2 separate regions of the Homo sapiens genome follow, and region 1 is linked to region 2. The links are contacts of gene promoters, found by promoter capture Hi-C in human tissues and cell types (Jung and others, 2019). All regions are on one chromosome and are shown on one strand. The core of a region is centred on a gene start or on the middle of the fragment in contact, and the rest is flanking DNA. Distances in the headings are between cores, read along the strand shown.

Region 1 (5,925 bases), core at 2,101-4,600, 320 kb after region 2:
GATTCTTTACTCATGAACTCCTAATACATAGAAACATTATCTCCACTAAATAAACAGAATTTTGTGTGCTTTCACACGGTACCTACATATTTTGGGAAAATAAATGAGTAGGAAATATTACTCTTAAATACTGCAAATTTGAGTAACATTTTAAAAGTTTATGATCACTGTCAGATTATGAAATCAGAGTATTAGATTGTAGGCTTAAATAGTTTACCAAGCATTAGGCATATACTTTTTCACTTGTGATTTTTCATTCAACATCTGTTATTTAATGTCTAAGTAAGGAGCTCTACTAAGTACGTAGGGACTAAGGCTCAGTCTGTTCTTAGGCACATAGCTAACGTCATACTTAGTAAACAGGGAGTGGCTTCTAGCACTTAAAAGCCTGAAAGGATCTTGCATATAGGAGCAGAACCTAGTGAGTAAAACATAAGTCTTCTTGAAGATCATTAGTTTTAAAGGGAAGGGTGAAAAAAGTAATTCTGTTATAATGATACATAGGCCTGGCCTGAGTGGGGCTATTTAGTTTCTCCAGTGAAGAAGTCTCCGTATTCCTGTCCAGGGCGTAGACATGAGCCGGGGATATGTTCTGGGAGCAGAGTGGAGTAAGGAGACTAAGATCCTGGTCTGATTCTAACTGTTCATCATAAAGACTGTTTCTTAGCCCAGTACTATATATCCTTGTGCCTAGTGTCTCCAAAATGTTCCGTCTTCTGCCTTGGAAAAGATTGTGATCTGGTTACACTGGAGGTGTGGGAGTGTGGGAAGTATGCGCCGACCACTCCATCCAACGAAGCTATGTGTCTCCAGCATCATCCCCCAGAATGTCTCCCCCGCCCCTGGTTGTAGTGCTGAAGCTCTTGTGGTCCCAGGGTGGACTGTTTTCTGGTCAGTATCTATTTCTGCGGCCACTTTTGCTTATAGCTGCTTATGTTCTTTCTAGTTGTCATCTCTTCTCTATTCTCATTATTTTTTTAAAAAAAATTGTTGAATTTCTTGTTCCTTGATTTTTTTTCTTTTATTTGTTCTTTGGGGTTTTCTTCTTTTTCTTTTCAACTACGAAGGAGAAAAGAAAAATGAATAGGATTTATCAGTCATATTTAAGGTGTCACTCAGTCCCCAGTCATGCTTAAATTATAACTCCCTTAGGCATGCTTTTCTGAGTTGGAACTCTAAATACATTGTGGTATGATTATTTATATTTTAATAGAATTCACTAAAAATTAGTTTTACTTCACTTGTAGTAGGTGATTGAAAACTGATTCATGCAGTAACTTCTTAGGAAACATCATTTATTATAAGTGGAGGTCCTTTTCATTAAACCTTTTGGACCATTACAAATTCTTATTTCTATCTGCCTTTCTTTACCTACGTCTATTTGTATCTACTTTCCTTACTTGTGTTTGGACCATAAACTCACGTTAGTGCATTGCCAGTTGACACCCGTTAGAGATGGTAATGATTCCTTGGAGCATTGATTCTTAACCATGGGTGTGTATCAGTCACCTGGTGACATGCTCCCAGGCTACATTCCTGACCTACTGAGTCAGAAGAATCTCTTGATTCTCACTTTTGCATTTTGAAAAACTTCCACTTGTTTGTGCTGTATAGTTCTATTTGAGAACTATTGTGTTATAGCTTCCGAAAGAAATAGATTTAACTTTGTGTAGCATTTTATTTCCTAGCAAATTAACTTCAAATTCTTCACCCCAGGGTGTCAAAATCTGGTCTCAACCTTTCTCTAGCACTTCTGCCAATATTCTCCTTTGGGTACCTTGTGTGCCGGCAGAAGTGGATGAGCCCTTTCTTGCTGCCATACCTTCTCCTGCTCAGGCCATCATGTCCTCCTGCCTAGAACGCCCTTTCCTAGCTAGATCTATTGACACCTTTTTCTTCGTCATAGGCCTCTTCAATTTTCTCTCCTTTCTTTGAGAATTTTTAGGCACTCAGCCAGCTGGAGAGAACATGTATACCTTTCCACATGTTTTGTTTTTGCTATTGTATCCCCTGGGAATTATACAGGAGACTGGAAATTGGATACATTGAATATGCCTTGAGTTAATTAAAGAAGTAATGTTATCAAGCTACGTTCTGCCTTGTTTTATGCTCTAATTTTTATTTCTATCTGATCTATCTGTTAGATTCCTGGTACCATGAGAAAAGACTCATTTTTTTCTCATTTTAGCAGTAAAATAGTTTGAGCTTTGTAAGTATTTCTTGAACAAGTAAATAAGGAATATTCTCTATACTTGGGATAATCCTGCAGAATTTGGAACTGTGGGTTAGAATCACAAGATTCATGACACAAGGGAAGGAGAAAATCAGTTCTGAGAGTATCAGTCTGCATTGGTGGGATGCTTCCACTGGTGGGGCTTTAGTCCTGCTCTGTCAGGTATATGGATTTGATACATTTCAGGACAGTCTTCATTTGTCAGATACAGTTGTGCTGTATGGCACAGTGTCTTCTGTGTCTTCTGTGAATGCAAGAGAGAATAATTTATAGTATTTGGTTTCATGGGTGCTAGTCTCAGCACCACTGTATGTTTTGAATTTCTATTCCGCTTAATTAGGTAAGTCACTTTTTATGTTCAACTTTAAATCTTTTTTTTTCTCACCAAATACTGCCTTTGTCATATTGCCTTGTAGAAGTATGTGATAATTAACTGTTTGTAACCTTCTCAAGAAATCTCTTAACTAATCATGATTATAAAATACATAGATTTAGAAGCAGAGGGTTGTTAGGTGGTGGGATCGATGTTGACCTTTGCAGTTAGGATAGTCAGAGATGAACAGAGAGGAATGGGAGGAACTCCAGATATGCCAAAAGGCCTGTAGCAGTATCGTGCGTAATGTATCAAGGTGTATTTATTGGTCACAGCTGGAACCCTGAATAAACAGTTTTATTGTCACCACATACCAGAAGAGTGGGGAGGTGAGGATTAACCTTTATTGAATGCCTACCATGTACACAGTTACCATGGCAGGGGATTTATGTGTCATCTCTTTTAATATTTACAACACTCTAATGTGCATCAGAAGCCTAGAGAAATGGTCACTGGCTTGAGTTCTCATGGATTGGTAAGTGATGGAACAGGTATTCAGCCTAACCTAGAGCCTTGTTACCAGAAAGCTGTACATTTGGACTGTGGCTTGTATCTTGACTCTCCAGCCCTAGGATAATTAGTTGCAACTTTACCATGACTGTAACAGTTATTTTGTTGTTGTGGTGGTGTCTCTCTCTCTCTCTCTTTTTTTTTTTTTTTGGAGACAGGGTCTCATTCTGTTGCCCAGGCTGGAGTACAGTGGTGCGATCTCGGCTCACTGCCAACCTCTGCCTCCCGAGTTAAAGTGATTCTCCTGCTTCAGCCTCCTGAGTAGTTGGGACCACAGGCGCGTGCCACCATGCCCTGCTAATACTTGTATTTTTTTGATAGAGATGAGTTTTCACCATATTGGCCAGACTGGTCTTGAACTCCTGAAAGGAGTTTTTGGGGGGTGATAAGAATCTTGAAAAAATTACCTCCTTTCCTTCATCTCACCAGTCACTGAGTTCCTTTTCCTGGAGACAACCATTATTGGCTTGTTGCTCCATCCAGTGCTTAGGATGTCTGTGTAAAACAAATGATACATAGCATACACAGTGCTCTGCATCTTTTTATTCATCAGTGTGTATATCTTTCATATTAATACATGTAGAAGTGTTTCATTATTTTTGCATAACAACTTTATTAAAAGATTAATTGCACACCATGTAATTACCCATTTAAAGTATACCATTCAGTGGTTTTTCAGTATACTCAGAGTTGTGCAACCATCAACCACATAATTTAACTTTTTTTTTTTTTTTTTGTAGAGATGGGGTCATGCTCTATTGCCCAGGCTGGAGTGCAGTGGCTATTTACAGGTGTGATCGTGGCATATTATAGCCTTGAACTCCTGAGCTCAAGTGATTATCCCATCTCAGCCTGCACAGTAGCTGGGACAATCAGCTTGTGCAGCTGCACCCAGCCCTCTTAATTTTATAACTATTTTATCACCCCCCCAAAAAACTTCATACACTTGAGTAGTCACCCCTATTTTCTGTACCCCTCCAGCCTTACGCTGTTACTGATCTACCTTCTGTTTCTATAGATTTGTCTATTGTAATCATTTTATACAAATTGAATCATACATGTGGTCTTTGGTGGCTGGCTTTGATTTATAATACTTTAATGCTGTCAGGGGTCATCCATGTGGTAGCATCTATGAGTACTTCATTTCTTTTTATTGTTGAGTAATAGTCTGTTGTATTGGATATACCACATTTTAATTTATCCATTCATCAGTTAGTGGATGTTTGGGTGGTTTCTACTTTAGGCTATAAGAAAGTGTGGCTGTGAGTGTTCATGTACACGTTTTTGTGTGGACATGTTTTCATTTCTGCAGAGTATATGCCAGGAGTGGAATTGCTGCATCATAACTCTTTTTTACTTTCTGAGATACTGCTAGACTGTTGTCCAAACTGGCTGCACCATTTTCCATTTTCATCATCAATACTTGTGGGTTCTCTTGTTTTGTACGTCACTGACGTCTCGTTATCTGTCTTTTTGATTATTGCCATCCTAGTAGGTGTGAAGTGGTATCTCATTGTGGTTTTGATTTTTTCATGTTTCTGATGGCTAGTATTGTTGTGTCTCTTTCCTAGGAGTTTTATAATTTTAGCTCTTATATTTAGGACTTTGATCCATTATGAGTTAGTTTCTGTGTATGGTGGGAGGTAAGAATTTAGCTTTATTCTTTCACATGTGAATATTCGGTTGTTCCGTCCCCATTTGTTGAACAGACTATTCTTTCCCAATTGAATTGTCTTGGCAATCAGTTGGAAATCAGTTGACTATAAATGCAAGGCTTTATCTCTGGACCCTCAATTCTGTTCCATTGGTCTTCATCCTTATGCCAGTACGACATTGTCTTGATTACTATAGCTTTGTAGTAAGTTTTGAAATTGGAAAGTGCGAATCCCCCAGTTTTGTGTTTTTCTTTTTCATGATTGTTTGACTATTCTGGGACCTTGCATTTCCATATGAGTTTTAGGAATGGCTTGTCAAATTCAGCAAAGAAGCTGGCTGGGATTTTGATAGGGATTTTGTTGAATCTGTAGGGGGCATTTTCCCATATTGGCAAACAGTATTAAGTCTCCAATCCATGAATATGGGATGTCTTCTGTTTATTTAGGTCTTTAATTTCAACAAGATATTGCAGTTTTCATAGTACGTTTTAAACTTCTTTTGTTTAATTTATTTCTATGTACTTTATTATTGTGACTAGAATTGTTTCTTCTGCCTCATCCTTTTTGAGAGTTTTGTATGGTTGTGCCATAATTTTATCATAATGTTATTAACAAGTTTCCTATTGATAGACATTTAGATCCCAATATATTGCTGTTTGCAGACATTGCCACAGAGTGTGTGTATCACTAAGGTGAATTCTACTAAAGAGAACTACTGAGCTGCAGGGTATCAGATATTGGAATCATCTGTGAAATTTAAAATGGCTATATACTGACTGTTTATCATTTTACTGCTTATTTTAAAACTTACAGTAAGGTATTTAAAATAAGCTGTATAAAAAATGTTCTAAACTCTTTTTCAGCTAACCTTACTACTTATTAAAAATAGTGATATGCTGGAAGAGGCTCATGCTCCTTAAAAAAATGCCTAGAGCAGTGCTACAGCATCTAGAGCCTGCAGCATTACTGTCCAATATAACTTTCTGTGGTGATAGAAATGTTCTATATCTGCACTGCCCATACTGTGCCATAGCCACCAGCCATATGTGACTACTGAGTGCTTGAAGGAGGATGACTGAATTTTTAATTTTATTCCATTTTAATTAATTTGTCTTGTTGCTACCATATTGTGTAACACAGGTTTAGGATTTCCC
Region 2 (5,958 bases), core at 592-3,091:
CATAGTACATTCTTAGTGAAATGACATTCTTCAAAATGACACACCGGTGGTTTGGGAGGTTTTTATGTGTCTCCTTTTCTATTTTTTGTAAAGAGCACTCCTAACTGCAAAGCAGTTTGAGCTGTGGAAAGAGGAACAAGGTCAAAGTCCTTGATATGATAGTCTACATCTATTATTTTATTAAAATGACAGCTCAGTAGGCATCAGACTACTTTCCAGGCATCTGAATGAGGCAAAGGTGGAAAATGGAAAGGGAAGGGTTTAACTGAGAGATACAAGGCACTCTGAAATCCTTCAAGAAAAAGGAGCTGAGATGTGGCAGTTATGACAGTCATGTGCTATGGACTGCTCAGAGCCTTCTTTCTGAGGCAGATTCTATCAGCCGCTAATGTTAAGGGCAAATCTTACTCCTAAGGGCCATGTGCTAATGTGGGCACCGTTTTTCTTACTGCTACACATTCCCAACTGTTTGCCACAGTCAAAAGAACCAAAAATCCCAATAGCAGAGCTATCACATGCTTTTCCCCTTCCTCTCCCAAAAAATGTCACTTCAAAGGTCCCTAAAGAGCCCTTGATTTGCAATAACCTGCCATCAAAGTAAAATGGCAAAAGTCCACAACCCTGACATATACTCCCGTACTAGGGAGGAAATGGTGGTACTGACCTTTTCCCCCTTTCCTGTCCAGTCCAAGATCCAGAACCCAAGTTATCCGTTGTGCTCTTGCCAGAGCAATTTTAAATTGCCAATTTACTGAAGGTGAACTAAACAACTGTCATTTGCCTCCTTTGAACCCAATTAGGGTGGTGGTCGTCTGTCCTAGATCATGGGCCCCTCCAAATTCCTGATGCTTAGTAAGTTGATGTTTCATTAAAATGACAGGCAGGCCCCAATTATTCTGAGTACTGTATGATAGGCAGACTTCCAGCGAAAACACTCTAGTCCCTGTACTAGGTATGGATCGGGAAGTGCTCTTCTCCAAAGCATCCCATATTTTACAATTTTAGAAAGACAAAAATATGTGTATCATGGTCATCAGTATTACCATATAAGCATATTGTGCAGAAAACGGTACTGCATCTAAAAGATAGGCAAAGAACCTTTCTATATTGCAGACCCTGGAAGGCTGAGTTTGGGCGGGAAGAAAAAGCTAAGGTGTTTGGAGCTGGCTTACTTTTCTCCTCGAGGTTCTTCCTTTCGTCACCACTTTCAGAGCAGCACTAGAAGAAGAACAGATGTGACAAGCACATTAAGATTAAAGTCGTGGATGGAAAGCATACGGGGCTCCCAAAGGGCACCCACTGGAGGCAAGAGAGGTTCCAGACGCTCTCCCACTTTCTGAGCGACCAGGGCCGTCCGAATCAGGTACCTCAAAGTGCCACTGTCCTGGTGCCACCGCCACCTTCCCAGGAGGTGTGTGTCACCTCCGCAGGACCTGGAGTTACCTTGCCTGCTCACTAGAGCCACCTCCCTAGAGAAATCTGTCATCTCACCAGGGCCGCCAAAGCCACTTCACGGGGACTACCGCCTCCTCTAGGAGGTCTTACAAGGGCCTCTAATCTAAGCCGCAGGAAGCACCTTCACAAGCTTACAGGGCCACCGCACCGGGACTATCTCCCCCGGGAGGTCTGTGCCACCTCAATGGGCCACCAATGTCCCCTCCCAGGGACGCCAGGGCCGTCTCACCGGGGCTGCAGGAGAGGCGCCGATCTCGCCGGCTGGTAGCATCTCGCCTCCGCGCGAGTCCTCGGCTCCATTCGCAGCCAGCGTGGCCTGTGGAGTCTGGCTAAGGCCAGCGACACACTCACTACCCAGCCTCGGAGGCCGTAGGACTGAGTGCCACAGCGACTTCCTCTCGATGTCTCACTGGTTTCTTCCTCTCAGCCCAGAGAGGCCCTGCCCGTGCAGCCGCCGGCCGTGCTCTGTTCCTCCCCCTCCTGACCGGAGGTCGGAACGGCCACTCAGGAAGCGGGCACCCTCCCCTATGGAGCTCCAGAGAAGGGATTCGCTCACTCCACCGCGGTAAAAGTCCCCTCCACTTTATTGAAGCTCTTAATGATGGAACTTTAAGATATCCCTCTCCCAACGCCTTAAATTCAATATGAATAATTTAAATTTATATTTTAGGCAATATCCAGATGTTCTGAGAGTGTGGGGGGCTTGTTGACTAGGAGCTTCGGTGCAGGGTTATTTGGTTCGAATATTTAGTTGGGGGTTTCCAATGAATGTCAGTATCTTTAGATATTTCTTTTAACGTTGGTCAGAGTCCCTAGAGATGAGCTTCTGATTTCCTGCCTAGAGGGTGTAGAGGTGGTTATAAGCGTTCTGGGAGCTGAATGAAGAGAACAGAGCATCTAACATGTGTTTCGCCCAAAACCCTGTCTTTTACCAGGGAGGAGGAAAGGGAGCTACCTAGCAGCAAGGGTTGTGTAGAGGACCTGTGGACTTGACAGCCTCTTAAACAAACTAACACGGAAGGAGTACCATAGAGACCATAACAAACAAGGGGGGGGGAAAGCAACCCTCAGAGGAAAAAGAAACCACACGGTGAGAAGAAAAATCAAATACATGTGCACAGAGATATATAATCGAGCTACAAATTACTATTGCAAGCATAAAACAAGGATGGCTGGGCGCTGTGGCTCACGCCTGTAATCCCAGCACTTTGGGAGGCCGAGGCAGGCAGATTACGAGGTCAGGAGATCGAGACCATCCTGGCTAACATGGTGAAACCCCGTCTCTACTAAAAATACAAAAAATTAGCCAGGCGTGGTGGTGGGCGCCTGTAGTCCCAGCTACTCAGGAGGCTGAGGCAGGAGAATGGCGTGAACCCGGGAGGTGGAGCGTGCAGTGAGCAGAGACCGCACCACTGCACTCTAGCCTGGACGACAGAGCAAGACTCCGTCTCATTTAAAAAAAAAAAAAAAAACAAGGATACTATTTTTTAAATTACCTATTATGGGAACATAATCGTATATATTTATAGTGTACATGTGTGTTTGTTTTTTTTTTGCTCAGGCTGGGGTGCAATGGCGTTATCTCTGCTCGCAGCAACCTCCGCCTCCCAGGTTCAAGCGATTCGCCTGCCTCAGCCTCCCAAGTAGCTGGGATTACAGGCATGCACCACCACGCCCGTCTAATTTTGTATTTTTAGTAGAGACGATGTTTCTCCATGTTAGTCAGGCTGGTCTCGAACTCCCGGCCTCGGGTGAACTGCCCGCCTTGGCGTACCAAAGTGCTGGGATTACAGGTGTGAGCCACTGCGCCCGGCCTTTTTTTCTGGGGCGGGGCGGGGGACGGGTAAAGAAATTTTAATGAGGATTCAAGGTTTGTAGGGAAGACACAGAGGACCGGCGCTCAGCCCCAGCCTCCTCACGTGTACATGGCTCCATGGAGGTTCTCCAGTCGGTTCTGCTGCTGCTGCTGTTTTCGAGCCTTATCTCGTCTGTGTTCCTCATAAGTGTAGTCATCAGTGGGCAGCTCATGGCGGCACAAGGGACAGGAATTTGTCTTGCTTAGCCAGGGCAGAATGCAACTGGAATGAAAAAGGTGTTGGGAAGCATCTCAATGGCAGTCTCCTCCTCAGATTCCAAAAGATACACGGGGCACTTGAGCTCAGCCTTGAGAGCCTCTGATGACTGTCCTGGAGAGGTTCTCAACCACAATCTTGGCAGCCGGTGGAGGCAGGTGGTGGTCCCAATCTACTACCAACCCCAAGTCTTCAAAGTCCATCCTATTCAAAAGTGACCTTACGAGCTCCAGCACCATGTTGGTTCGAGTCTCCTGCTTGAGGGTCCAACGGCTCACAGTCGTGTTCATCGATATAGGACGCCATGGCTGCCCAGCCGTCTGACATGTGATGTTTTGATACAGGTATACAATGTGTAACTATCAAATCCGAGTAACTGGGGTATTGATCATCTTGAGAATTTATCATTTCTTTGTGTTAGGAACAGTCCAATTCCACTCTTTTAGTTATTTTAAAATATGCAATAAATTATTAACTGTAGTCACTCTGTTTTATTGTTGTTGTTGTCGTCATTTGTTTTGGTTTTGGTTTTTTTGTTTGTTTTTTGAGACAAGTTCTCCCTCTGTTGCCCAGGCAGGAGTGCAGTGGTGCAGCCATAACCCACTGTAACCTCAAACTCCTGGGCTCAAGGGATCCACCCACCTCAGCCTCCTGAGTAGCTAGGACTATAGACTGGCACCACCATTCCTGGCTAACTTTTTTTTGTTGAGACAGTGACTCGCTATGTTGCCCAGGCTGGGCTCTACTCCTGAGCTCAAGCGATTCTCCTGTCTTGACCTCCCAAAGTGCTAGGATTACAGCCATGAGCCACTGCACCTGGCCCCTAACTGTATTTTTGGACCCATTAACCATCCCCAATTTATGCCTTCCTCCCTGCTACCCTTTCAGCCTTTGGTAACAATCATTCTACTCTCTATCTCCTTGAATTCAATTTGTTTAATGTTAAGCTCCCACATATGAGAGAAAAGGATACTATTTAAAAGGAGCATTGGCTGGGCACGGTGGCTCCTGCCTGTAATCTCAGCACTTTGGGAGGCTGAGGCAGAACAAATTGCCTGAGGTCAGGAGTTCAAGACCAGCCTGGCCAACATGGTGAAAGCCTGTCTCTACTAAAAGTACAAAAATTAGCCAGGCCTGGTGGTGGGAGCCTGTAATCCCAGCTACCCAGGAGGCTGAGGCAGGAGAATCTCTTGAACCCAGCAGGCAGAGGTTGCAGCGAGCCGAGATTACACCACTGCACTCCAGCTGGGCAACAAAGCAAAACTCTGTCTCAAACATAAATAATTAAATAGATAAATAAATGAATAATAAAAGGAGCACTCACTTGTAAATGGGGAGGGTAAAAATAAATAAAATAAGAAAAGCATTCAGAGATGAAAAAATATGACAGCAGAAATTAAAATTTCAAGAGTGGAAAGATAGGCCAAGTGCAGTGGCTCACGCCTGTAATCCCAACACTTTGGGAGGCCAAGGCACGTGGATCGCTTGAGGCCAGGAGTTCGAGACCAGCCTGGCCAACATGGTGAAACCTGGTCTCTACTAAAAATACAAAATATTAGCTGGCCATTGTGGCACGTGCACCTATAGTCCCTGCTGCTTAGTAGGCTGAGGAACAAGAATTGCTTGAACCCAGGAGGCTTTTAATTTCTGCTGTCATATTTTTTGTTCTCTGAATGCTCTTTTTATTTTATTTATTTATTTTTATCCTCCCCATTTTCACAAGTGAGTGCCCCTTTTATTATTTATTATTTGTTTGTTTGTTTCTTTGAGACAGAGTTTCGTTCTGTTGCCCAGGCTGGAGTGCAGTGGCACGATCTTGGCTCACTGCAACCTCCGCCTCTGGGGTTCAAGTGATTCTTCTGCCTCAGCCTCCCTAGTAGCCAGGATTACAGGTGCCCGCCATCATGCCCGCCTAATTTTTGTATTTTTAGTAGAGATGGGGTTTCATCACATTGGCCAGGCTGGTCTTGAACTCCTGACCTCAGGTGATCTGCCCACCTCAGCCTCCCAAAGTGCTGGGATTATAGGCATGAGCCACTGTGCCTGGCCTTTTCTTTGTTTTGTTTTGTTTTTTGCTTTTTTTTCCTAGAACATTTATCAACATTTATCTTCCCACACTTTGTTTGTTTGTTTTTATTTTGAGACGGGGTCTCACTCTGTCACCCAGGCCGGAGTTTATTGGCAAGATCTTAGCTCACTGCAACCTCTGCCTCCCAGGTTCAAGTGATTCTCCTGTCTCAGCCTCCCAAGTAGCTGGGACTACAGGTGTGCACCACCACACCTGGCTAATTTTTGTATTTTTAGTAGAGATGGGGTTTCACCATGTTGGCCAGTCTAGTCTCAAACTCCTGACCTCAAGTGATCTGCCCGCCTCAGCCTCCCAAATTGCTGGATTACAGTTGTGAGCCACCACGCCTGGCCAAAAACTGGA

What was found. Contacts are between HindIII fragments. The study calls those that stand out against the background at their distance.
Region 1: a fragment that was not itself captured here is called in contact with the fragment with the promoter of RINT1 in region 2 in 2 of the 25 tissues and cell types used here (lymphoblastoid cells and spleen).

The regions. Positions count from the first base shown.
Region 1 is chr7:105,213,997-105,219,921 of GRCh38, reverse strand. All of the region lies in intron 2 of SRPK2 (SRSF protein kinase 2), which reads left to right. Among named protein-coding and RNA genes, the nearest start is that of SRPK2, 170 kb to the left of the region's middle. The HindIII fragment of the contact is 9,081 bases long and covers 1-5,925 here.
Region 2 is chr7:105,528,084-105,534,041 of GRCh38, reverse strand. RINT1 (RAD50 interactor 1) reads right to left here and starts at 1,841. Exons shown (of 15, transcript NM_021930.6): 1 at 1,685-1,841; 2 at 1,173-1,218. The coding sequence starts at 1,726. It also overlaps the pseudogene LOC100131785. RefSeq lists enhancers at 1,069-1,645, 1,491-1,670, 1,761-2,060, 1,646-2,223, 2,511-2,560. The HindIII fragment of the contact is 3,792 bases long and covers 205-3,996 here.